Linked DNA regions of Homo sapiens: region 2 is linked to region 1. The links are contacts of gene promoters, found by promoter capture Hi-C in human tissues and cell types (Jung and others, 2019). All regions are on one chromosome and are shown on one strand. Each heading gives the region's core, a stretch centred on a gene start or on the middle of the fragment in contact. The rest is flanking DNA. Distances are from core to core; before and after follow the strand shown.

What was found. Contacts are between HindIII fragments. The study calls those that stand out against the background at their distance.
Region 2: a fragment that was not itself captured here is called in contact with the fragment with the promoter of HECTD2 in region 1 in 1 of the 25 tissues and cell types used here (bladder).

What each region holds. Positions count from the first base shown.
Region 1 is chr10:91,408,948-91,411,706 of GRCh38, forward strand. It overlaps HECTD2 (HECT domain E3 ubiquitin protein ligase 2), which reads left to right and starts at 1,397. Exons shown (of 21, transcript NM_182765.6): 1 at 1,397-1,629. The coding sequence starts at 1,492. All of the region lies in intron 3 of HECTD2-AS1 (HECTD2 antisense RNA 1), which reads right to left. RefSeq lists an enhancer at 804-1,013 and a silencer at 1,164-1,753. The HindIII fragment of the contact is 7,826 bases long and covers 1-2,759 here.
Region 2 is chr10:89,742,151-89,744,909 of GRCh38, forward strand. It overlaps KIF20B (kinesin family member 20B), which reads left to right. Exons shown (of 33, transcript NM_001284259.2): 22 at 1,658-1,777. Among named protein-coding and RNA genes, the nearest start is that of KIF20B, 42 kb to the left of the region's middle. The HindIII fragment of the contact is 3,872 bases long and covers 1-2,759 here.

The DNA of each region.
Region 1 (2,759 bases), core at 147-2,646:
GCAACCTTATCTCATGATGCACCATAACTAGTATTTAGTTATACTAATAACTCCAAATTATGTAAACAATAGATACCCCGAAATCATATTTGGGTTTGTTTCAGAGATATTTTTGGTTCTTATATTTGGACTTAGGTACTCTTGATCTAAAAATTCACTCAACCTCCAATAAAATAATGAAGGCACAGATAAAAAATCTGATAGAGCTGAATATCGAAATTCCTTGCTTTTAACAGGCGATACAGCGCATTCTTACTCTCTTTTCTCCTAGATCAGCAGGTGTCCCCGCCGCTCCAGTAGACTGAGAAAAAGGAAAAGGAGGGGGCGACAAGAAAGGAAAGGAAATTGTCTAGGTGTCCTGGTGGTGGAGGTGGGGGGTATTTTAATTTCATAATTAAAAGCTCTCTTCTTCGGCTTTCAAGTTTTTACTCCTATTTGTAATGATTTGATTGAGGACTGTGCAGCAGAGTTTGGGTATGTACATCTCTAACATAAACGGAAAGGAACAAGGAAGGGACGGATAGGAGACAGCAAAGGGTTGCGGGGAGAGAGCAAAACGTAGGCGCGTGGGGACGGGAAGGGAGAGGCGGATTTGGCAGTCAAAGAGGGACGAGAGGAACAGGAATGGAAAGTGTGGACTGGCCGTCCAATCCTATGGGGGAAGGGGAAAGGGGGGGCCCACCACGTCGCACTCCTCCCCACCTCCAGGCTTTTCCTGTGTAGGCTGAAGCCATCCAGGCGTGTACAAAAGAGTCGGTTGCTGAGCCAGGAAGGCTGTCTCCCCGGGCTGCGCAAGCTCCGGGCCGCCTCTCCTGGGCTCAGGAGGGCGGGCAAGGATAAGAAGGCAGAAGCCCCAAGGCGGACAGCTTTGTGGGCGCCTGGAAGAAGGCGAAAGGCCACCAGCCCAGACCCCGAGGGCGCTTGCCCGCGGGACTCGGCGCCGCAGGCCAGGGCCGTCCGTGAAGGGTAGTCTGTGCCTACGTCCTGCCCTACTGGTACCACTCGGACACTCTATCCCCGTCCGACCCTTTGCAGGGCTCGACTTGTCTCCCCGACTGCCCGTCCTTAGTCCAGGTTCTCCTGCGCGGCCCGGGTGCGGGGTCTCCTCGTCATCTCGGGCGACACTCTGCAAACAATATGGCGGTCGGGCGTCGACCGTGGCGCCTTCTCTCCGGGCCCTCGGGGTTGACGAGGGGGACTACCGCCGGCGCTCCCGACCCGCGACGCGCGAGCCCCGGGCGGGCGGGGGAGGCGAGAGCAAGAAACCTGTGGGACCTGTGGGGAGCCGCGTCCGCGGGGCTGGCGCGCGCGGGGGCGGCCTCGGGCTCGCGCGCAAAGGCGCGGGCGCGGGCGGGGGCGGAGTGGCGGCGGCAGCGGCGGCTAGAAGCGGCAGCCCAGAGCCCTCTCGCGGCCGCGGCGGCAGCAGCAGCGCCAGCCCCAGCAACACTGAGGCCGCCGCCGCCGCCTGGCGCTCCCGCCGCCCGGCCCGACATGAGTGAGGCGGTTCGGGTACCCTCGCCCGCCACTCCGCTGGTGGTGGCGGCGCCCGCGCCTGAGGAGAGGAAAGGGAAGGAGTCAGAGCGCGAGAAGCTGCCGCCCATCGTATCGGCGGGCGCCGGCGCGACCGCGGTAGGTGGTGGGCCGGGGCCGTCTGGCGCCCCGGACGGCGGGAGTTGGGAGGGACGGCGGCCGGGCGAGGGCCGTCAGGAGGCCTGCGTTTACCCTGGGCACGCCCTGGCACTCCAGGGAGACGCACTCAGGCCGCCCTTCCTTGGGCAGAAATAAAAGAGTTGTGCCTCGTGGACAGCCCCGAACACTTCGCGAGGTACACCTACCACCCTCGGGAAATGTTGGGGGTGGTCGGTTCCGCTGGATGTTTGGGTTATTTTCTGGGGCTTGGGCCCCCACTTTCTCTAAGAGAATGACCTGCATCTTGAGTCGGCATGATCTGTTGGATGAGCATAGGTGTCAGCAGGCGGGAGTGGGTTTTCCACGGAGGTGCCTGCCTGCCTGCCTGCCTTGGAGGCGCGCAGATTTTTGTCCTTTTCTTCGCTTTTCTTTCCCTTCCCCCTTCAGATTAAACAGGCTCTGCGGCGAGTTTCCACTTAATTGTGACCTTTCCGTTGCTGTCAGTGTAGTGGGAGGTAGATGCATCAGTGATGGTTTTATTTTTCATATGGTACAGACATGTGACTCAGGTGGGGGGAGGCTTTTTGAACCTTTTATTTAAACCCAAGTTATCTAAGCTTGACAGGGATGATTTCCCAGCTGTATCTTCGTAAGGGTTATTTGGAGAGCGCTGTCAGGCTTCAAACTACATATTGCCAGATGATGTCATGGGACAGCCCCCTCCCCCTCTTTCCCTATTTTTACTGGTGGTTGTGACTGGTTAATTTGAAGCACAATTTAAAAAAAAACCTCGGATTTTGCAATTTTTTATTTTGACATAATATTTAAGTACTTTTTGAAAGTTTGCTTTGATATATTTAAAGATCATGACTTGTCATGCAGCTGTGTGTGACAAAATAGTAAAAGTTTAGTGAACATTATACATTTTCTTTATTCCTACTTGCGGTTCATTTCTTAAAACCTCCCTCTTAAATGACTAAGAACTTACTAAAATAGCTCACTCTTCGTTAAGTACTGTATTGGTGTTAGGAATAATTTTCGGATTCGGTAGGTTTTTCAAAAATGTCTGAGGGCCCTGATAACTGGAAATTGTTAAAACAAGCTCTTTAAATCAATGCAGCAAATTGCGA
Region 2 (2,759 bases), core at 89-2,588, 1.7 Mb before region 1:
GTTTTGCTGGTGCACCTCACTGCAAAAGTTATGGCCACAATTCATGATAATTGCTTAGCTAAGATGGAAAAAGCATTAAATTTGTGGGTGGAGGATGCAAACAGAAGTGTGTTTCGATTGATGGTGTCTGGGTTCAATACTGTCCACTGGGGATCTTGAAATACTATCCAATGTTTCAGGTATCCACTGGCGATCTTGAAACATATCCCCTGTGGATAAGGGGGAACTTGTCCTTGTCTAAGTTCACTTGTCTTAGTCTTAATAAGACTTGTCTAAGTTCACTCAGTAGTAAGTGCTAGAGCCAGAATGGAAACCGAGGCAGTCCTTACATGCATCTTTGTGCAGCACATAGCCTCTATTATTGTTAGTTATATAGTTGATGAAGATGGTGTTTATTACTTGAAGCCTCATTTTTTTAAACAAAATTAGCAAATATTATGAATATGTGATTATCATGTATGTATTATTGGAACATAAAGCTTAAAACAATGTAAGAATCCTCTGAAACCATACCACTCTGAGCTACTATAATAAGGGCATCTTCAAGCCTTTTTTTTTTTTTTTTTTTGGGCGGAGTCTCACTCTGTTGCCCAGGCTGGAGTGCAGTGGCGTGATCTCGGCTCACTGCAACCTCCACCTCCCGGGTTCAAGCAATTCTTCTGCCTCAGTCTCCCGAGTAGCTGGGACTACAGGCACGTGCCACCATGCCCGGCTAATGTTTTTTGTATTTTTAGTAGAGATGGGGTTTCACTGTGTTAGCCAGGATGGTCTCGATCTCCTGACCTCGTGATCCACTTGCCTCCGCCTCCCAGAGTGCTGGTATTACAGGCATGAGCCACCATGCCCGGCCTTCTCTATGCTTTTTATGGGGCATCTTTTCATTTAATTTCCTTCCGTTTTTGAGCTCTCTAGCGAGTGTGAAAATGGAGTTTTGGCAGTAAAGCTCCACAAGGGAATAGAAGAGAAGGCTCTGCTGCCAGTTAGATAACTTCCCTCTGGAAATCCTGGCAAGATGTACTGAAAGGTTTCAGAGGGGGTTGGTATGATGGAAACTAGTATAAGGATGTACCTATATTAGCTTTTTTGGGTGAGAAATTAATATATATATTAGTCCATAGTACCTCGATTTCCCTACGTTTATGGCATTAGATTACCGGCAACAGCAGAAATCAATTGACCTTCACTTGCGTGGGTACCTTTTGATTTTGTGATTGTTCCATTTTCTTCCCTGCATGTCATTATTAGCTTTTAAAGTTTTTCTTGTATTCCTGGATTATATTACTCAATAAACTTTGGAAATTTGAATCAGTATTTTTCTCTCAGAATATCTTTATTGATTTTTCCTTGGTAATTATTTCCCTATTATGTATAGATGTTATGATAATTCTTTTTTGAGAGAACTTAAAAAGTTTGAGATTCTTAAATAATGGAACAAGAAATTGAGTTTTTCATATGCATTCTTCATTAGAGTATTAAAACATTTTCTAATAATTTGAAGCTATAGTGTGTTTGATTTGTAGTATATTAAAATCTGTCATTTTTCTTTTAGGCTGTAAAGGATGTGAATCTTTGAACATAGTTGCCATGAATCTTAAATAACAAAAAGCAGTTAGTATTTTTAAAATATTCCATTTGTTTTATAAACATTATTTTGTAGGTATCTGTAATGCGTGATGAGGATAAATTACTGAGGATTAAAATTAATGAACTGGAGAAAAAGAAAAACCAGTGTTCTCAGGAATTAGATATGAAACAGCGAACCATTCAGCAACTCAAGGTAAACAGTTTTGTTTTTAAAGATGATTTAAATGCATTCTCTTGGTATATTTTAGTGTACAAAAAGGTACAAATTTGTTTTTAATAACATCCTGTTTTGACTTTTTCTAGAATCTAGAAATAAATTATTTAAAATTAAATAGGCAAAAAAGAAAAAAAAAAGATAAAATTAAGTAGGCCAGTAGTGACTCTCTTCTAATGAATAGACTATGGAAAAGAAAAAATAATAACTTCATAGTGAAGAAACCTAGCAGATACCACTTTAACCAAGTGTTTAAGAATAACATTACCATTAGTCATATTGATGCTGTGTGCTTCCTGGTTTGATGTGACCAGAAAGGCACATACCCTCTTTGGTATTCTTTCCCTAAATTTATAACCTCAGACTCTTCACGAAAAAACATTAGACAAACCCAAATGGAGGATGTTATACTTACTGCTTCACCAGTATGAAGTATAAAGTGTCAGGGTCATTAAAGACAAGTAAAGACTGGTGAATGATGGTGAAGTCTGGAGTGTAATTAATAGTAGTATACCAATGTTAATTTCTTGATTTTTGATAAATGTACCATGGTAGTGTAATATGATAACATTAAGGGAAGCTAAATTCTTTGGAACTCTTGCAAAGCTAAAATTATTTTGAAATAAAATGCAAAAAAACAAAAAGAGTTGAGGTCTTACAGCAAATTCCTTTTAAAAATGATATTTAAAAGGCAAAATCCCTTTATTGTATATGGTTATTTTTTGCTTGATATCAACCAAATGGATGAGGCAACAATAAAAAAAATACATTTGTTATATTATTTTCATGTTTGCTTTTAAATGAAGCAAACTAATGAATAGTCAGGTATAAATACATGATTTTAATTCTTAAGGTAATCATAATAAAGCATTCTATAACAATAGGATTCGAGATCTCCATATTCCATAATGATTCACTCTTAAGACTTACAAAGTGATGAGATAGTGGTGACATTAGATGA